Regions from separate parts of the Homo sapiens genome. Here regions 1, 2, 3, 5 and 6 are each linked to region 4. Evidence: promoter capture Hi-C in 16 types of primary human blood cells and fetal thymus (Javierre and others, 2016). All regions are on one chromosome and are shown on one strand. Each heading gives the region's core, a stretch centred on a gene start or on the middle of the fragment in contact. The rest is flanking DNA. Distances are from core to core; before and after follow the strand shown. Region 1 overlaps KIF20B (kinesin family member 20B). Region 2 has its middle 33 kb from the start of FAS-AS1. Region 3 overlaps STAMBPL1 (STAM binding protein like 1). Region 4 holds the start of IFIT5 (interferon induced protein with tetratricopeptide repeats 5). Region 5 overlaps KIF20B (kinesin family member 20B). Region 6 overlaps KIF20B (kinesin family member 20B).

The links. The method cuts DNA at HindIII sites, captures the fragments that hold promoters and counts their contacts. A CHiCAGO score of 5 or more calls a contact.
Region 1: a contact is called between a fragment that was not itself captured here and the fragment with the promoter of IFIT5 in region 4, in 1 of 17 cell types (megakaryocytes). The highest score is 5.2, in megakaryocytes.
Region 2: a contact is called between a fragment that was not itself captured here and the fragment with the promoter of IFIT5 in region 4, in 1 of 17 cell types (M0 macrophages). The highest score is 5.2, in M0 macrophages.
Region 3: a contact is called between a fragment that was not itself captured here and the fragment with the promoter of IFIT5 in region 4, in 1 of 17 cell types (neutrophils). The highest score is 5.5, in neutrophils.
Region 5: a fragment that was not itself captured here is called in contact with the fragment with the promoter of IFIT5 in region 4 in 1 of 17 cell types (erythroblasts); the score reaches 6.9 in erythroblasts.
Region 6: a contact is called between a fragment that was not itself captured here and the fragment with the promoter of IFIT5 in region 4, in 1 of 17 cell types (megakaryocytes). The highest score is 5.8, in megakaryocytes.

What each region holds. Positions count from the first base shown.
Region 1 is chr10:89,729,486-89,733,004 of GRCh38, forward strand. KIF20B (kinesin family member 20B) reads left to right here. Exons shown (of 33, transcript NM_001284259.2): 19 at 3,418-3,519. Among named protein-coding and RNA genes, the nearest start is that of KIF20B, 30 kb to the left of the region's middle. The HindIII fragment of the contact is 3,587 bases long and covers 160-3,519 here.
Region 2 is chr10:89,024,447-89,027,836 of GRCh38, forward strand. No RefSeq gene overlaps it. Among named protein-coding and RNA genes, the nearest start is that of FAS-AS1, 33 kb to the left of the region's middle. The HindIII fragment of the contact is 925 bases long and covers 806-1,730 here.
Region 3 is chr10:88,922,212-88,925,814 of GRCh38, forward strand. STAMBPL1 (STAM binding protein like 1) reads left to right here. Exons shown (of 11, transcript NM_020799.4): 10 at 126-225; 11 at 957-1,276. The coding sequence ends at 1,013. Among named protein-coding and RNA genes, the nearest start is that of ACTA2-AS1, 8.7 kb to the right of the region's middle. The HindIII fragment of the contact is 169 bases long and covers 1,481-1,649 here.
Region 4 is chr10:89,413,211-89,416,490 of GRCh38, forward strand. IFIT5 (interferon induced protein with tetratricopeptide repeats 5) reads left to right here and starts at 1,358. Exons shown (of 2, transcript NM_012420.3): 1 at 1,358-1,593. The coding sequence starts at 1,589. It also overlaps a transcript of LIPA not described here. RefSeq lists enhancers at 1,215-1,524, 2,135-2,234, 2,335-2,404. The HindIII fragment of the contact is 3,334 bases long and covers 1,326-3,280 here.
Region 5 is chr10:89,771,226-89,774,568 of GRCh38, forward strand. It overlaps KIF20B (kinesin family member 20B), which reads left to right. Exons shown (of 33, transcript NM_001284259.2): 32 at 1,464-1,606; 33 at 2,746-3,343. The coding sequence ends at 2,823. Among named protein-coding and RNA genes, the nearest start is that of LINC00865, 57 kb to the right of the region's middle. The HindIII fragment of the contact is 2,447 bases long and covers 240-2,686 here.
Region 6 is chr10:89,753,845-89,757,322 of GRCh38, forward strand. KIF20B (kinesin family member 20B) reads left to right here. Exons shown (of 33, transcript NM_001284259.2): 26 at 674-829. Among named protein-coding and RNA genes, the nearest start is that of KIF20B, 54 kb to the left of the region's middle. The HindIII fragment of the contact is 3,234 bases long and covers 530-3,478 here.

The sequences.
Region 1 (3,519 bases), core at 703-3,202, 320 kb after region 4:
TAAAAAGGAGGAGAATATGTAGCCTTTGGACGTTTAAGCCTCAGCTAGTTGGAAGGGGAGCTTTGAGGAGAAAGGAATTTAGGTGTACTTAGAAAACCAGATTATAATGTTTCAGGGAACTATAACATGAAATTCAGTAAAATTAGGTTTTTCCTTAGAAGCTTGTTTTTATTATATGTATTGTTGCTATTGTTTATATGCTTAATAGCAAGGATATTTTTTCTAAAAAGTTATACACTGTGACATGTAAAGACTTAAAGGGTTGTCTTTCATACAAATTTAGATAATTTCATATTCAGTTCAGCTTAGAATGATCAGCTTGTCTTTTAATCCATGTCTTTTAAAATGGCTTTTGGTTTTCTTTTTTTGGGGTAAGCTCCTTCAAATTATTCTTTTATTTAGAAATGGTAAAATATATGGTAATAATGTAGTAAGCTGAGTAAACTTAGAGCCAAACATCTTGCTTTGTTGAAAGGTGCTTTTTTATGTCTTTTCTATGACCAAAAGAAGCAGGCGTGGTATCTTATAAAAAGTGACTGTTGAGTTTCCTTTGTATCTTGATAGTCAAACTCTAATACCCACCAACATTCCCTGATTCATCTGAACTTTAGATGGGCATTTGATACCACAGGGGTAAATGAGGAGCATTCTAGAAGAGCACTCTGTCTAATCTCCTATAGTAGGCCTTTCTTTTGGTATTTATTAGATACATGATTCATTCTCTGGTTTTTCTGTACCTGAACTGGGAGAAATATCCTAATATTTAATATGTTAATAATAAACTATTTAGTAATAATTAGTATTTAATAAGGTGGAGGAGCAAGAAACACTTGTGGAGTGTCCAACGTGTGCCAGGTACTATGCTAGATTATTGGAATTATACAGATTAATAAAATCTACTACCCTAACAATCCCCCAATAAGAAAAAAACAACATAAATATAGTTATAATACAATGTGCAGTCGTAGTCAATGTGTGAAGCTGTGAGTGGGTGGGGAGTTAGGAATACTTTGTGGAGATGAAAATGATTAAGTTGAGCCTTAAAGGGTGAGTAAAATTTAGCCTTTTGAAGGTAGAGGAAGGGGACAGTGGTAGTCAGGAGAGACAAGAAGGTACATTGGCCTTCCATGTACCAGAATCAGAGTGCACAAAGTCATGGAAATGAGAAATCTTTCAGTGAGTGCAGGAAAATACAAACAATTTGTTGTTTAGGAAGAAAGTTTGAAGCAAGGAGAGGTGAGAAATGAGGCTAGGAGTAGTAGAATAGGATAAGATGAAAGACCTTGAATACTGCATTAAAGAGTTTGGGGAGTCAGTGGGGGAGTCATTTTCACCAGAGGAATAGCAAAGAGGAGTTTTTCATTTGAGTAGATATTTTTGGAAACTTGGAAGATAGGATTGAGATGGAATTAGACTACAGGCAGAGAGACCAGATAGCTACCTCTTGGAAGAGTTCAGCTAATAGTTGATGAGGACTTCGATTTACGGTAGTAGTAGTAGAGATTAAGGAAGAGGAAATTGATTTGTGAAGTAAGGGGATGTTAAAATTTTGAGACTTGGGGCAGTAAATTAATTGCTGGGCCTCCTGGCTCTCGAAACTTTTATTTGGTTAGTCATCACATGCTTTTTGCTCTCATCTCTTGATCTGGATTTTAAGTCTGTTCTTTGATTTGGTAAATAAAAACAAAAAGGAAAGTCAGAGACAGGTCATTTCTGGTGACTACAACTTCAAAGAAAATAGTTGGAAATTTCACATGGGATTATATTTATTGCTGTAGTGTGTTTGCATACCATAATATATTAGCAATATTTAAGGAAGTGATAGTAAAAAAATCAATATTTGTAAATTAGTTAGTCCTTGCTTGTAAATAAACTTTATAGATTCTAGATCTTGTTTTATCAACTAACTTAATACAGTGTGCTAAATTTAAATTGTTCACTTAAATACATACAAATATACAAAGTAGTTTGGAACTTACCTAATTGTCCTGATTAACAGTTGATCTAGGGTCACTGTTCCACATCTTGTCTTGAGCGCAAACTCTTTCCAATAATGAAAAAATTTAGTTTGAATTCTTTGCTTTTTCTACCCAAGCATACCCTGGGAGCAGAAAACCCTCCTTTCAATAACTATAACTTCTGAAGGATAGATTTTTGGTGAGGATTGTATATTTTGAAGCGGGGAAAAATGACGGGATCATTCTGATAGGTACCAAGGATCGGGGAAGGAACAACTTGGACTTGTTATGGAGCTGTGTCAGAGGTGTGATCTGCCTGTCCCATGATTTTGTCATTTATCAGTGACACTAAGGGACTAATTGTGAGAAAGCGTGGAGATTGTTCTTTATGACATCCTTTGTTTAGAGATACTAGAAAAACTTTGCCTTTTTTCTTAAATAACCCATTACTTTATGACTTTAAAAGGTTATTTTTATCTGTATTTCCTGCTAATACAATGTTTGCTGATTAAGCGGCACTCTATCATACACTTTGTTTTTTCAAATTGATTGCTACAAGTTTCTGCCTTCACCATACATTTGATTACTCTATAGACTTGCGCTTAAATGCTGAGTTTTACCCTTCTTCTAAATCCATATTATACCCTTTTTTTGGAAGTTCCCCCCCTCTCTCAGCTCCCCCACTTTCTTTCTTTTTAGAGGTAGGGTCTCATCACTCTGTTGCCCAGGCTGAAGTGCAGTGATGTGACCATGGCTCACTGCAGCCTTGAACTGCTGGGCTCAAGAGATCCCATTGCCTTAGCCTTCCGAGTAGCTGGGACTGCAGGCATGGACCACAACACCTGGAATTTTAATTTTTTGTAGAGACGGGTTCTCACTGTGTGGCCCAGGCTGGTCTCAAACTCCTGGGCTTGAGTAATCCTCCGGCCTCAGCCTCCCAAAGTGCTGGGATTACAGGCAGGAGCCCCTGTGCTTGGTTGCTACTAGCCTTTTCAAGGGAGGCAGTCTGCCTTAAAAAAAAAAAAAGTCTAAATGACGTATCTAGAAGCTCAGTTTCAAAGCTGTCTGTAGGCTGTATATCTTTGAATATATATCGACTTAAAGCTAAGGGCAAAACTATTTTTCTAGGAGTTGTTAATGTTTAAGACAATACTAATCTTTAAGAGGCTTTGGCTACAAAACAAAATAAATAGTTGAGTTCATATTTTTCTTTTCAAAGCACATTTCTGATGTGACTTCAGAGATTTATCTTCTTAAGATTCTCCAGTTATCCCCAAATGTTACTTATTTGCTAGAGCCATCAGTTATTTTAGGACGAAACTTAAGAAATAACTTAGAAAATGTCTCAACAAATTTGAAAATAAAATTTTTATGGTACACCATTGAAAGTAATTTATGTGATTTGTACATTTTTTGTAGCTTTCTATATGTGAATTATTTTTAACTTATTTTGCTTTAGGACAAGGCTGATACATCTTCTTTAATAATAAACAATAAATTGATTTGTAATGAAACAGTTGAAGTACCTAAGGACAGCAAATCTAAAATCTGTTCAGAAAGA
Region 2 (3,390 bases), core at 18-2,517, 390 kb before region 4:
CCCATGGATGAAAGCAAAGAAAAATCAATAAAGAAAGTTGAAAGAGCTATTTTACAAAGCTTGGAAAAACACTGGTCTCTCATCCCTGTGTCAAAATATAGTGCAGATTTATCCAGACATCCAATCTTCCTTTCCTTTCCTCGCTTCTCCCCTCTCCTCCTTAACACGTGCATATTGTCCAAACCACCATCTTGCTTTGGTATAAGGGGAATTCCACTCTTGTGGGTGTCCAAAGGCCACTCCTGTGGAATTCTTACCCTTATGCCATCTAAACCATGCACCTCTGATATGCACTCACATATAATTGTCTTCTGTAGATGTTTAATTATCTCCCCTTTGCTAGGCCATAAGCCATCTGAGGGCAGAAATCATGATTAGCACAGAGTAGGTGTTCAGTCAACATTTCTTGAATGAATCAGTTAATGAAGGAACATTATGTATGCAGTAGTCATTTGTGTTCTGTATGACTGGCATTTGATGGAAAAGTCACAGCGAGTGTTAGGGAAGCTGAACTTTTTTTTTTTTTTAAACATTGTATCATTAATTTATCACGTGTATCCAAGCTCCTTTGAGTTTCCCTGCCCCCATCCCTGTGTCATTCCAGCCATATCCAGCTACTCCTTCCATGCTTCCCCCATTCTTGTTTCTGACTCTATTACTCCCAGTCCAAATCTTGCTCTTCACTGTCTGCACCTTGTGCTCTCCTCTCTCTCAAAAAAATCTACCCAAATTCCACCCCTCTTCACAGGCCCAGGGAAATCACTAGTTCCCGCAGGAGGCTGTAGGCTGTAACCAACTCTCTGAAAGCTTTGAGTCCTCTCTGAGGTCATCTGTGCTTGTCCTCGTTCCATCAGGCACTCCTATGTTACTTGACCTGTGGTCTGCATGTACAGATCTTGTACCCCATATACATTGTAAGGTCCTTGAAGGCAGAAAAGGAAGCATAAAGAAGTGGGTAGGAGTGTAAGCTCTGAAGACTGTGCATTTGAATCCCTGCCATTCCTAGATTTGGGACCTTGTCACCTTGGGCAACTTATTTACCTCCTCTGGGCCTTAGTTTTCTCACTTCTAGAAGAGGGAAAATGATAGTATCTGCCATGTAGTGCTGCTCTGAGGATTAAATGAGATACTCCACTTAGAGCCCATGGAATGGTATCTGGCATGTGATAAGCGCTAAATATAGCTTTCCTATAATTACAGTAATGCCCAGGGCTCCACAGGCCCAGCCCAGCACCAGTACAGGAATAGTATGACATTGATGCTAGAGTTGGCAGATTGAGGAGAACACACAAAGGGCTAATGATGTTCAAATACACATCAGATTTCACACAGAGCTTTGGGCTTGACTTCCCCAGCTGCAGGATTCTTCTGGCTATCTGCTTTATAAATAAAAAGCACAAGTCTGCAGTAAAATGCAGGGAAGTGACAAGAAGGCTCATTCAAAGGTCATGGCAAATGAAATAGCCACAGGTAAAAGTTTCCCTTCATTGTATGCTTTCTGTCCATTCTTGTGGATGCTGCTGCAGCAAGGAATTTGGGAAAGGGCCATTGGTGGGAGCAATGTGTCCTAGTCACCTAAACGAAAGACACTGAAGTGAGTGCAACAAAATGGACTTTCTTTTCCAGGGTGGCACCCTCCCACCAACCATCCAAACCCCTCTGTCTAAAGAGCGCAGCTTAACCTCTGGATTATAAGGATTTCAGATTTGTTTCCTAAATCTGGAACTCAAAGCTTTCTCCTCCTCAATCTACCCCCAATAACCTTGTCTCTTTTGGAAGCCTTCCCTGCAGTTCTAACAAACTAAATGGTTCATAACTTGACCTCATGAATGCCTCTCTTCTATATGTTTTCTTAGCTTTTGACCTGGAATTCCCTTCTTCCCATCCATGAAGGTCAAATGCCACCCCTCTTTCAAGTCTTAGTTGGAGGCCACCTCTTTATGAAACCTTCTCTGGTGTCTCAGGCTAAAGACACTGTAGGCCACATCTGTTTATTAGGGCCAACAATGCCTCCCTCATTTTTTGTGGTATGGATTAAAGACAATTCTGAAAAGCACCTAGAACAGTGTCTGGCTTACTCAAAAATGGTAGACATTATTATCATTATCACTCTCATCCTAATTAATTATATATAGAGCTTATTATCCTAAAGGCAGTGGAAGGGAGTAAGGATTATGTTTGACTAATTTTACAGGTCTAGGCATCAAAGAAAAATTTGCTGTACAAATGATCATACAAATTAATGAGCGAAAAGATATCTAACTCATCCCTGAGACAACATGAGGTGCAAACAACTGTGTGTTTCTAAATCTGCAGTACAACCCAGCAAGTATATCATTGTTTTTCCTCCTGATTATGAAGCCAGTACATAGTCAGCTAGAAAATTCAAGCAATACAAAACAGTTTTAAAAAGAAAGTGCAAAAGGCCGGGTGTGGTGGCTCATGCCTGTAATCCCAGCACTTTGGGAGGCCGAGGAGGGTGCATCACCTGAAGTCAGGAGTTCGAGACCAGCCTGGCACCATGGTGAAACCCCGTCTCTACTAAAAATACAAAAATTATCTGGGCGTGGTGGCACGTGCCTGTAATCCCAGCTACTCAGGAGGCCAAGGCAGGAAAATCACTTGAACTTGGGAGGCGGAGATTGCAGTGAGCCAAGATCATGCTACTGTACTTCAGCCTGGGCAACAGAGTGAGATCTGTTTAAAAAAAAAAAAAGTGCAAATTAATCCCAATCCCACTGTTCAAAGGTAACTCTTGTGAATTTTTAGATATCTACACACACACAAAGTTAAAGAAAGGTGATCACACCATACACGCTTATAACATGCTTTTTACTCAACAATGGGTTATGGTTGCTATTCCATGTTAATAAATAAAAATAATTTCTTTTTAATATTCCTTTTAAATATAATTGTTATGGTTTGGCTGTGTCCCCACCCAAATCTCATCTTGAATTGTAGTTCCTATAATTCCCATGTGTCATGGGAAGGACGTGATGGGAGGTAACTGAATCATGGGGATGGGTCTTTACCATGTTGTTCTTATGATAGTGAATACGTCTCATGAGATCTGATGGTTTTATAAAGGGGAGCTCCCCTGCACATACCCTCTTGCCTCCTACCATGTAAGACATGACTTTGCTCCTCTTTTGCCTTCAGCCATCATTGTGAGGCCTCCCCAGCCATGTGGAACTGTGAGTCCGTTAAACCTCTTTCCTTTATAAATTACCCAGTCTCAGTTATGTCTTTATTAGCAGTGTGAAAACAGACTAATACAATAATATTCTTTTTTGGTACATAGTATTTCACTGCTTTGGGGTATCATATGTTGGTAAAATACAAATGTTATCATAATTTATTTTGCTGAAATACAAATGCTATTAAAGAATG
Region 3 (3,603 bases), core at 315-2,814, 490 kb before region 4:
AATTCCTAGTTTGTGATTTCTCAATCCCATCTGAGGAATATGTATGTGTGTGCTGTTCAAATAAAGCATCTGGAATGCCCAAATGATCCTTAATTTTTCTATCTTGTTTTTGCTCTGAAATTTAGCACTGGCATCTTCAGGCTCACCAATGCTGGCATGCTTGAGGTTTCTGCTTGTAAAAAAAAGGGCTTTCATCCACACACCAAGGAGCCCAGGCTGTTCAGTGTGAGTACATCATATTAGTTATTTTTCCAGGTATTTCTTGTTCACTGCCCCCCCAATCTGTTTTTAAATAAATAGTAGCAGTCTAATATAAGATAAAATACTGTACTGCTTAGTTTGGAGTTTTATCTCAGAAAATTAATCTATCTGTATACTTAATTTCTGATTTATTCTCAAAATAATTGTATTTACAAGGAAACATCAGTATTTCTGTAGCAGAATTAATGGTGCACAAAGTTACCTTTCCGCTTATGTATATGTATGATATTTAAAAGTTTTCTTCAGAGTCCAAATAAGTAAACAATTATCATAGAAAATGACATTTAAAATGTTGCATGAATTCTTTCTGCTTGATATGGCCAAATTAGTTTTTTCATAGCAATTGATGGAAACTATGATCATACTTCTTGATTACCTTTGCATAGTCCAAAAGAAACATTTGACTACGCCTTTTTTTTTCCTAATTTTCTTGGAGGTTCTGTGGCTATAACATCAGAGAACATTATATTGACGTTAGAATTTACTTAAAATGAAAATTATTTGGCAACCCCTGTAAATATTTTTGTTGTTGTTGAAAATGAATAAATGTGATTGTATTTGTTCTGATTGGAAATATTTTAAAAATCAGGAACAAATTAAAATTAGGAAATCTATACTTCCTCCCTAAAGAAAATCATATGGTAAACATTATGGTGAAATCAAACATATGGTAAAACCAATTTTTTCTTTCCTAGATATGCAAACATGTGTTGGTAAAAGACATAAAAATAATTGTGTTGGATCTGAGGTGATATGTTCTGAATGTAAGCACCGTCAACATCAGACACCTACTCATGGACATGTGGTTGCCGGATTTTCTTAAGATGTTTCCAGAAATGACTGATATTTTATATTTATACATTTTAGATGACAAAGCTTGATATTTATTGCTGTTGCACATTTTAAAGTTTTCTTTTTGGGTTGCTCTGTGTCAAGAGAGGTTACATGGTGTTAAATCGGTACCTGATAATGTACCCAAATACTATGGCCAGATAATAAATTGTGCTGCAAACAACATGTCTTGTATTTATAGAGGTCTCTGCATACATTTTTAGAGCTTTAGATGATTTGCTATATTTTTTATTCATGTAAAATGTAATTCCAAATAAGAAATTCTGAGTGTATATAGTCTCCAAAGCAGACCATCTGTTTCTGAAACCTTCCCCTGAGGTAGGTGAACAGCTTCCATGTGTAGATGAAATATGGCTGCCATTGATAAAGCTTGTTCTGTGTTTTCAGTGTCATGAAATCCCAGGCTCAGAGAGATATCTCTGCAGTGAATCATTGTGTAAGATACAAGAACAACACTTCTATTCAGGGATCAGGTGTCAGAGGGCCTGGGATAGCAGACAATTCATTAATTTGATTTAGAAGACTAAAAGTAGAGAAGCTTGAGAGAGGATTTTTTTTTTAAAAAAAGACTCAGATAAAAGTACAAAACCTGTTACTGTGAAAATGAACAGGGGTGATAGGAAGAAGAAATGAGACATAAGAAATAACTGATAATTCTTAGTCAACTTGCTAACTCTGTTAGCAAGTTGAATTGGTAGGAAAAACCTGAGGATGGAAACAGTGTGGAGAAATCTTAGCTGCAGATACACAGAGGGCAGAATGGAAGTGATATTGTTGAGTTATTTGAGAATAGGTCCTTTGGGACACTGAAGACTAGTTCTGCAGGTGAAATCTTTATCTTGGAAGACATTGCTCCCAGGCACATTGGGAAATCCTGGGCTGACAGCCCTTTCCTTGATCGAGAAACTTGTGATCACTTCTTAGTCTCCCTTTTCATCCTTTAGGGCCTTACATTACTCTAGTCTAGCTTTCTTCTTTTTTCTTTTCAACGTTTAAGTTTCCTTCTCCAGCCATCTCTCCCTGGATCTCCACAACTTTTCAACAGGGCCAAACTAATCCTATGAAACCTTCTGTCTTCCCAATGTCTTCTGTGCCAGCCACAGCTCTCCCTGCCTTTGCTTTCCTCATGACATTGTATCTGAGTTGCCTAAACAACTCATGTTTCCATGTACTAGCTTCCACTGCTTAGTTCAATGATTTCCATATTCCAGAGTGGTATTTCCTGTACTCTGTGCTTGGATGGGTTAACATCTGATATGGTTTGGCTGTGTCCCCACCCAAATCTCATCTTAAATCATAGTAGGAGGGACCTGGTGGGAGGTAATTGAATCATTGGGGTGGTTACCTCCATGCTGTTCTCATGATAGTGAGTGAGTTCTCAGGATATCTGATGGTTTCATAGGGGGCTTTTTCCCTTTTGCTCAGCACTTCTTCCTGCCATTATGTGAAGAAGGACGTGTTTTGCTTCCCTTTCCGCAATGATTTTAAGTTTCTTGAGGCCTCCCCAGCAATGCAGAACTGTGAGTCAATTAAACCTCTTTCCTTTAGAAATTGCTCAGCCTTGGTCAGTTCTTTATAGTAGCATGAGAATGGACTAATGCATCAACCCTCCCTGCTTGTCTAGTTCTCAATTCTGGTATCATGTCACCTGAATTCTGTTCCTGTTCTCATTTATACAGAACCACCTACTATGGGCAAGTCAGTGGCTTGTTTCTGTTTCATGGAATCTTCTAGCTATGGAGAGCTCAGGTATCAGACTTCAGAAGTAGAGCTTGGCTTGCCTTGTGCATGGAGACTTTAGTCTATGGCCACCACTAGTTAAGAGCAGATTAACTCTGCAAGGCTGGCTCCATAGACACCTCACTTTTTCCTGAGTGGTGCTGTCCTCAGTGTCTTAACACTTAAACACACCATGATATTCTGATATGCTTGATCAAAGGAAAATGTTATATTCTTTATTCAAGTAAAAATAATTGTTGGGACAATGGATAGTTGAGAAATGAGTGAGATCCTTTGTATAGAATTAAAAATTATAGTAATACACTAAGAGGATGTAAAATGAGAGTTGTCCGATGAAAAAGCTATGGACATTGAATGGTGCCTAAAGATAGAAAGGACTCAGTTGAGGGCCAAGAACATTTAGCATCTTAGATTTCCAGAAAGACTAGAAAGAGAAGCTATGAGTATGCAAAACCATTATGTCCCTTCTGAATAGCAAACTAGAAGAGAACTCATTTTCACTAAGAAAGTATATTGTATTTCCTAAATAAAGGAGACATTCTTGGCACTTTTTTGTAGGTTTTTTTTTTTTTTTTTTTTTTTTTTTTTTTGCCAAGTACAAACCAAATTAACCAGGATCTCACAGAGTGGGACTGTTGGAGGCGGCAAACCAGAGCCTGACTTTGGCTGGCAGAATGAGGCCCTGGGGCTGTGTCTGAAAGAACCAACAGAAATGTGACCACATCACTAAGTAATGGACTGGTCGTGAGG
Region 4 (3,280 bases), core at 108-2,607:
TACCTAAGTTATTCCAAATGTAAGTTTTCTATTAACTTATCAGTTTTTAAATTTATATTAAATTAAAAATCAGGTTCTTAATAGCCACAGGTGACCAGCAGTTTCTGTATAAGACAGTACAACTGTTAGAAGTGATTGCTTTAAATGAGGCACTCGCTTCAGGCACTAAGTTTTGAGGGGTGGGGTGCCAGAAGCTCAGTGATCAAGGTAGACAATATTTCAATGCAATATGTTTTTAAAAATTCAAAATCAGGCCAAGCATAGTGGCTCATGCCTGTAATCCCAGCATTTTGGGAGGCCACGATGGGCGGAACAATATTTAAGGTTTAGAAAAATATTTGTGCCCAGGTGTTGGAGACCAGCCTGGGCAACATGGCAAAACCCCGCCTCTACAAAAAATAAATTAATTAGCCCGACATAGTGGTGCACGCATATAGTCCCAGCCACTCAGGAGGCTGAGGTGGGAGGATCGCTTGAGCCATGAAGGTTGAGGCTGCAGTGAGCTGTCATCTCACCACTGCACTCCAACCTGAGTGACAGAGTGAGACCCTGTCTCAAAAAAAAAAAAAAAACCAAAATCAATGCAAAAGATGAATTATGGACAGGATATTGAGGTTTTGAATACAGACATTAACTCAATAAGGGTAAGGCCCGTGTCTGTTTTCTTTATTGTTATATTGACAGTACTTTGAACAAAGTCTGGCTCTTACAGTTGTTTGTCAATATTTGCTGAATGAATTCAAAGGGGACAAAATGTTTAAGGTATGGGTGTTTGACATTTTCTGCCTAGATCCCCAATACCACTCTTGTCTTTATTGGGTCCTTATTACAAAGCACCATTGGCGAAGGTATGGAAGAGAAGCAGTCTCCTACAATTGTGGGTAAGAGTGGATTTTTAAAGCTATTTGGCAATATCCGTCAAAACTTAAAATGTATATAGATTTTAGCTCCAAATTTCTCAGTTTACACCCAACAGAAATAACAGCATAGATGTATAGCATTGCAGTGTTGCTTGTTGAATCAAAAGACTGGAGTGGAAGCAGGGACTTAAGTTTCCGCCTGTAATCCCAGCACCTTGGGAGGCAGAGGCGGGCGCATCCCTTGAGATCACGACTGGGTGACACAGTGAGACGCTATCTCAAACAAACAAACAAACAAACAAACAGTTACACGGGCAGCATGCGAACTCAGCGTACTCAGGGAGGCAGATAAAAGCCGAGACCAAAGTGAAGGAGCCCAGCTGCAAATTCAACTCCGAAAGACCCTGGACTCCGCAAACGTCTGGCCGCGGCTCTTGAGCTCTTCTATTAAGTTTCGGTTTCTGAAGCTTACGTTTAGTTTCGATTTCTTAAGTTTCAGTTTCTGAGCGCTCGGCATCTGATTCAATCTCCAGTTTCCTGTTCTTGCTGGGGCTGGGGTCTCTCCTTTAACAAAGACACGCCGCGCGGCCGAGTCCAGGGGCTGCAGAGGCCTGGCGCGCGCACGCGCACGCGCACGCCCACCGCGCGGCTTCCCGCGGTCCCCGGTGCTGAGGAGAGAGCGATCCGAGGGACTGCGCCGCCCGGACGGCCTGCAGAGCGCTGCCATCATGAGGTAAGGGTTTTCCTTTGCCTCTCCTCCCAAGCCCTGCGTCGGCCTTGGTTTCAAACCGGGCTGCTTTTATTCATTTCCAGCGCAGTTCTGCGGCCTTTTCAGGGGCCGAGCCCCTCGCGCCCAGCAACCGGGCATCTGCGTTGGGGACCCTCCCCGGGCGCTCTGTCCCGGCGCGCGGCGTCTGAAGTCGGGCCTGCCGGGGAGGGTGGCCGAGTGGACGCTTCTCGGGAGTCCGGCCCCTCCCCAGCGCCTAAGAAGGCCGGTCAGGGAGGAGGAACAGGAGATGCTCCCCGGGAGCCTGTCCCATCCCTGGCGTCTGCGGTCGGGACTGTCAGGGTATGTGCCGGGCGACGCTCCCCCGGAAGGCCTGTCCACCCATCGCGACCCGACGGCTCTTCTCGGCAGCGGCGACGGTGACCGTGCTGGGTCCGCGGCCGCCGCCTCCGGGAAACTGGTCAGCGCCTGCAGAGCCCCCAGGCGCTGTTCCGGGGGCAGCTGCTACGTGCCACGGGTCTCCTTAGGCCTGTCGCGTGCCTCTCTTTCCAGCTGCCATTCCCTCGGTGTGGCATACGCGGTTTCGCCGCAGCCCTGCAGGCGTCAGGTTCGCCTGCCACTGCCAGTTTGCGTTTCTGATTTCTGGGTCTGAGTTCTTCCCTTCCCAGGAGCTACCTCTGTACCAAGCACAGATTGTTATCGTCCCACCCAATCCGCTGTTTTATGAGGATTTCTTTATCTGTTTCCTTTACTGATTTAGTATGATGGCGTCCTTTTCTTGATCATTTTGTATCCCCAGGGGCTAGCACCCCGCCCTGCACGTGGTTAGTGAACCTTCCGCATTTAATGAGTTGAGGAATGAGATGTTAAGGTCTTGGGCTCTAAAAGCAGATAGTCCCTTGTTCTAAATCCGGACTGAACTCCTACTAGTTGAGTGATCCCAAAGTTTCTCAAACTCTGTGAGTCTGTTCCTTATTTGTAAAAATTAATGGTGTCCATCTCTTGGGACTGTGGAAAAGGACAGTAATAAATCCTATCAGTTGACTGCTTAGCACATAATACTTGCACAATAAATGTTAATTATTCCCATTATAAGTTTAAAAAAAAAGTTTAAGTGCCACCCACACATCTAACTTTATTTTTGAGACGGAGTCTCGCCCTGTCACCCAGGCTGTAGTGTAATGGCTCCATCTCGGCTCACTGCAACCTCCGCCTCCCGGGTTCAAGCCATTCCCCTGCCTCAGCTTCCCGTGTAGCTGGGATTACAGGCGTGTGCCACCACGCCTGGCTAATTTTTTGTATCTTTAGTAGAGACGCGGGTTTCACCATGTTGACCGGGCTGGTCTCGAATTCCTGACCTCGTGGTCCACCCGCCTCAGCCTCCCAAAGTGCTGGGATTACAGGCGTGAGCCACAACGCCTGGCCACATCTAACATTTGTAAGAAAGGAGAGTGCTATCAGGAAGGGGCTTGACAACAACAACAACAACAAAACAACAACAACAACAAAAAACAGAAAAAGACGGTGGCGTGCACCGTATATATGCAGGATGGGGAGGAAAAGGGCTCAGCCCCATTGGGGACTGTCTCCCAAGGACAATGAAAGTCTGCTTCTTCCTAGCAGAAGAACAGAATTACCGAAAGATACGTGTTACCTCTTCTGATGCAATAGCTTCTCTCTTATTAGCTTCCCA
Region 5 (3,343 bases), core at 213-2,712, 360 kb after region 4:
AATCCTATTTTTTGTCTTAGCACTTTTTAAACTGTAATTCTTTGCTTTCTTATTATCTTTTACACTAGAATATAATCTGCACGGACAAAATGTCTGTCTAGTTCATACTGTCAGCTCTTAGTATAGTGGCTAGCACATAGTAGTGATGAGTTTGGCTCTAGGCCAACATATGTATGATTTTTAAACATTTCTATTTTTTTTAGGCTGTACCATAGGCAATTACAAAGACTTACCTGACAAGCTTCCCTTCCTACACCAGACTTGATGCATAGCCAATGCATTATAATCTCTTAAGGGAGTTATAGTCAAGGATCCAGCATCCCCCAAGCTAGTCATGCTCTTACTCATATTTGCATATTTAGCCTGAGTGCCTCCATTCAGAGCCTCTTTATTGAGGCCTTTGGTGGAGGCCTTCTTATGGAGGGGAACAGGAGGGGGAACCTTGAAGACGCTTTTCTCCACTGTAACTCGGTACTTTTCCACGTATAGCTCCCTCCAACCTCCAGCCCTGAGGTCTATAAAACTGCGAGAGCCTTTTGTTTGGGGCTGCCTGGGTGGTAAAATGACCACCACTTCTATGCTGATCTGTATTATTCTGTGGTGGACTATAGAAGAGGGTGGGTAGGAGCTGGTGCTTTCTCAGGTTTAGTCTCTCGCATATACTGTTGAAATAAGTGGTTAAAAAGCTGGGTTGTTACTTTCATTTTGGCTTGTTGTCTTAACTGGCTTCTCCGATACCTGGACTCTCAGCTCTCTCAAGCCCAGCTCAGCCCTTAACAAGTAGTCTTCTCAATTTAGTCTAATGCCTTAAATGTTTTTTCTATTTAAAAAAAAATATTTGATATCACATGTGTGTGAATTTCTATCCAGGAATTTTCCCACATGGAAATATGTTTTCTATTAAAAAAAAGTACTATGTACTATGTACATAGTAAGGAATTTAAAAATTCCTATTCTACTTCCCTAAAAGCAATCAGCTGTTAACAGTTTGGTTTCTCTCCATTTGTGTGTGGACTTGAAGTAAAGGGTTTACAAAGTATTTTCATGCAGCATTCATTGTGCATAACTTTATGCATGAGCATTGAACTAGATCATCTACCACCTTATTTTTAATGCTGCATGATCCACTATGTATATATCCTGCTCTTTTGCTTAACATAGCATAAACATTTTCCAAGTCATTAAAGATGCCTGAGGTTTTTTACTACATTGAACATTAATCAAATGATACTTTATTTGCTTTTTTTTTGCTGTCGATCATTATTTCATGTTCTCTTGACATTTACTTTTTTTCTTTGTGATTTGTCTATTCATGCCCTTTCACCATATATATATTGCAGTGTTTTTAGTTTGTGTATGTTCATTCTTTATTAAGGATTTCAAACCATCTTTATTAAGGATTTCAAATCACCTTTGCAATTAGAAAATTATTTCAGGAACTAATTAACAATTTTATTTTATAGCAAAGAAGATAATTGAAACAATGAGCTCTTCAAAGCTCTCAAATGTAGAAGCAAGTAAAGAAAATGTGTCTCAACCAAAACGAGCCAAACGGAAATTATACACAAGTGAAATTTCATCTCCTATTGATATATCAGGCCAAGTGGTAAGCTAGTATTTCTGTTTTCATCAATGTAGAACTGTTCGTGTTCTTTTTAATTTTTTACAGTGGTTTGAATTTCAATTCTTTAGATCTCTGAAAACACATGCTATAAAGGTCATGCTTTTAGTCTCACATGTGTTAAGTTTATACTAATTAAATATAAATACTGTATTAAATGTATATAAGCGTCATGCATTTGCATTTGAAAATGCATCAGAGGAATTTATTTCCAATAATAGAATTGTCACTATTTAGTAACTTATTTGCCTCCACAATCTTTTTTTCTTTTTCTTTCTCTTTTTTAAATCACGGGAGTTGTACAAATCTGGGCCCAAGTGTTCCTGGTAAAAATATAAAACTGACATTCAGCCATTTCCTCCCACCTTTCCCCTAAGCCTTTGAGGATCTATTAGGAAGAGACTGTAGTTATCACCCTGAGTCTATGATTCATTCTCCTGATTCAGAACAGTATGTGCTGTCACAGGGAAAGCTCAAATTTTCTGTCATGCTTGCATTTGCTTAGTGGATGAAAGTGAAGGTAAAAAAATAATTAAAAGAAATTAAAAAAATTAAAAAGAAGTGGCCAAGAAAAATCAGGAGAAACCTTTTTTGCCACAAGAGCTTTCAGATATGAGATTGACACTTGAATGCAAGATGTAAAGAGTTAGGGTAAATTAGGGCATGGTGTTGTAAGTACCATTCTGTCAGTCATTTTTGAGCATCTGTTTGATTAGTACCTGATTTCTTCCCTTGGCTGAAAATTGTTTTCTTAGTTACTATATAATGTGCTTTCTACTTTCTAAGTTATACATTTGTTGCCACGAAAGATCATTTCTTAAAAATTATTTGAGGCACTTGTCTCCAAATATTTTAGTAATTATTTTAAGTTATATCTGCCTTGAATTCAATATGGAGTCTAGGTTATTTTACTTCTAGAATTTGATAGTGTTGAATCTTTTACAAAGTCTGTTTTTTAAATAAATTTTTATAGAAGATGGCATATCTGTAGTCTAAGTAAAAAAAATTCTCCAATGTATCATTTCAGTTACTAAGCACATGAACATGTCTTACTCATTATAAACAAGCTTTTATTTTTATTTTCACTTACAAGCTTTGAAAAACTATGAAATTTTTAATTTCAGATTTTAATGGACCAGAAAATGAAGGAGAGTGATCACCAGATTATCAAACGACGACTTCGAACAAAAACAGCCAAATAAATCACTTATGGAAATGTTTAATATAAATTTTATAGTCATAGTCATTGGAACTTGCATCCTGTATTGTAAATATAAATGTATATATTATGCATTAAATCACTCTGCATATAGATTGCTGTTTTATACATAGTATAATTTTAATTCAATAAATGAGTCAAAATTTGTATATTTTTATAAGGCTTTTTTATAATAGCTTCTTTCAAACTGTATTTCCCTATTATCTCAGACATTGGATCAGTGAAGATCCTAGGAAAGAGGCTGTTATTCTCATTTATTTTGCTATACAGGATGTAATAGGTCAGGTATTTGGTTTACTTATATTTAACAATGTCTTATGAATTTTTTTTACTTTATCTGTTATACAACTGATTTTACATATCTGTTTGGATTATAGCTAGGATTTGGAGAATAAGTGTGTACAGATCACAAAACATGTATATACATTATTTAGAAAAGATCTCAAGTCTTTAATTAGAATGTCTCACTTATTTTGTAAACATTTTGTGGGTACATAGTACAT
Region 6 (3,478 bases), core at 897-3,396, 340 kb after region 4:
CCTGACCTCGTGATCCGCCCACCTTGGCCTCCCAAACTGCTGGAATTACGGGCGTGAGCCACCGCACCCAGCCTAGAAGTTTTTTAAGTGGTATTATTATTTTTATTTCAAATGAAGTTCTACTTGGGTTTTTTATATATATTATTAAATGCCTCTGAACCCAAAGAATCTGTGGTACCAGTTTGAAAATTACTGATCAGCAGTATTCTCTGTCCAGCTCTTCTGGATGTTCTTTTAATAAATATCCTGTTGCACAAGTTATTTTTTATTTGGCATCTCGTAGGCCCAGGAATATTTTATTTTTAGAACCATCCAGTTAGAAATGACCACCACAAACAAAGTCTTTTTTATTCTCTTGGCATTTAGGAAGATTTGAGTCAGTTTAACTGTTTCAGAAATTTGAATTATTTATTTTTTCTTAAGGTCACTGATAAAAGTATTTAAATGGACTTCATAGCAAAATTAACTTATAAATGAAATGCGTTTAGGAAAGCAAACCAGTTATTTTATTATTTTTTAAATAATCTGAAGCTTTGATCTTGTCATTGTTTAAAGTGAAACATTAAAGTTTTTATAGAGGTGAAAAGTAATGGATTGTATGAAAATGTTATAGAAACATGTATTGACTACTTTGTAGGCATGCGATAATAACTTATACCATTTATATATACAGGAGTCTGAACAGAAATATAATGCTGATAGAAAGAAATGGTTAGAAGAAAAAATGATGCTTATCACTCAAGCGAAAGAAGCAGAGAATATACGAAATAAAGAGATGAAAAAATATGCTGAGGACAGGGAGCGTTTTTTTAAGCAACAGAATGAAATGGTTAGTAACAATTGTATCTTTGATGTATTTCACCTACTTTCCTTGGTGTGTTAAATGTATTGCTGGAATTAACAGTTTCTACATGGTTTTCTGTTTTTGGTTTTTTAAAGGCAGGTTGTCATCTTTATAAGATAACTTCTGAGCCAATTTATCTTGACATTCACTAATGTTCTTGTTTTAACTTGTTTCAGTTGATTTAGCATGTTGGGAGAATACCTTATTGCTTCTTACTGTCTAGATACTGAAGTAAAAAATCTCTTCCTTTTGACCGTTACAGAGTATTCCCTATTATATTTTAAAACTTTCTGCATTTTGAACTGTAGATTCTAATACTGTGTACATTTTATCACATAAAGTCACCTAAATAGTTTGTAAAAGACTATATATATAGTAGAAATGACCTTCAGTTTTACATTTACTAGCTGTAGGTCTTGTAATGATTGTCTTAGCCTGTTCTTTTTTTCTAATTGGCACTTAGTCTGACATGCCATGTTGGCAATCAGAAAAAAGAAGCTAAACGTTATCGTTAATCCGAGGAAAGCTATTGAGCAACAAATATTTTAAAATGAAAAACCAGTGTCTATAAAAATAGTAACTTCGCAGTATCATATTGTCATCTGTTGGCATTTCCTTTTTTTATGACTGCATTTGACTAAAAACAGTTAAACTTTCCTATAAAAACTGAAAGATTTCCTTCCTTCTTTCCTTCCTTCCTTCCTTGCTCCCTCCCTCCCTCCTTTCCTTCCCTCCCCTCCCCCCTTTCCTTCCCTCCCCCCTTTCCTTCCCTCCCCTCCCCTCCCTCCCCTTTCCTTTTTCCTTTCCTTCTTCCTTTTCTTCATCCTGTCCTCCTTCTTCCTTTCCTTCCTTTCTCCTTTCCCTTCCCCGTGCCCATCCCCTTCCCCTTCCCTTTCCCTTTCCCTTTTCTTTCCTCTTTTAAAGAGACAAGGTCTTGTTCTGTCACCCAGGCTGGAATGCAGTGGTGCAGTCATGGCTCACTGCCGCCTCAGACTTCAGGGCAAAAGCAATCTTTCCAGCTCAGCCTCCCAAGTAACTGGGACTACAGGCACATGCCACCACACCTAGGTAAATCTTTTATTTTTTGTAGGGACAGAGACTTGCTGTGTTGCCCAGGCTGGTCTCAAACTCCTGGTCTCAAGCAGTCCTCCTGCCTCAGCTTCCCCCAAGTGTTGGGATTATGGGTGTGAGCCACTGTGCATTGTACCCGGCCTGAAATGTTAATTTTCAATAAGGTAAGGACAGTTTTTCCACTTTTTTTCTTCCCTAGCTTTAAAGCTGCTTTTAACATTGAATATTGAACAGAGTTGGCCAGTTTTTATTAAAATGAGGCTGTTGTGAGCTAAACTTTCCAGCATGCTTGCTAAACTCCAGACCATACATGTATTCTACTCCAGAAATCAAGCCCTTGGTTGAAGTGTGTGTCCTTTCTGAAGCTAGAGAGTCTACCATTGAATGCTCTGTCCTCATGTCACATGGTGTAAATTTGCTCCCATAAAAAAGTTTACTTTTTCATGAAATCATTTTATTTACAGAATAAATTTTTTGAAATCATTTTATTTACAGAAAAGTTACAGAACTAGCACATAGAATTCCTGTATACCTATCACCCAACCTTCCTGACCCAGTAGTAAGAGGCAATAAGTAAAATCAAAACAGAAGGCTGTCACAGTTGCTCCAATTCCAAACCAGTGGTTTCTCTGGTAGCAATGCCAGCAAGTAATCCCACTTTGAATTTTTAATCCTAGGGAAAGCTAGTTTACTCTTTTCTCTCATATGTTTCTTTATAATCATACTTAGGTTGTGTATGTGTCTGCCATACTTAAGAAACACATTTTTGATGTAATGTTAATTTTTGATGTAAAATTGTAACATATAACATGGAAAGGAAATAGAACATAGTTCAGTGAGTTATTGTGAAGCCAGTACCCACTTAACTAATACCTATTTCAAGAAGAGAACACTGTTCCACCCCAGAAGCTCCTTCTTCTGCCTCTTTTCCAGTGGTAATAACTAATCTGTCCTTCAGTGTTACACTTCAGTTTTGTCTGTTTTTGGGTTTTATGTAAATTGAAATATATGAATACATTTGATTGTACCTGACTTCTTTTCATTCACTATTTTATGTTTGTGAGAATCATCCATGTTTCCATGCATGTATCTGGAGTTAGTCCACTTTCATTTCAGAATATTTAAGTGTATGAATAAACCACTGCTAATTCATTTTAATGTTGAAGATATTTGGATTGTTTTCTGGTTTTGGCTGTTATGAATAAATTTTCCTATAAACATTTTTATACATTTGTTTTGGTGCACATTTGCATATATCTCTGTTGTGTGTGTGTGTGTGTGTATATATATATATATATATATATATATATACACACATGACAATTGCTAGATGATAGGGTATATATATGTGAAATTCTAGTAGAATGCTGCACTGATTTTCGAAGCAGTTGTACCCATTTATACCCCAACTAGTGTTGCAGTAGCTGTATAGTCCCACCAAGGTATGGTATTGTCAGTCAGTTTTTAAAATGGTTTTAATGTGCTTTTCCCTAATTACTGATGAAGTTGAAGATTGTTTCATTTGTTTATTGGCTGTGCCTATACAAGTTCCCTTACCTGTTT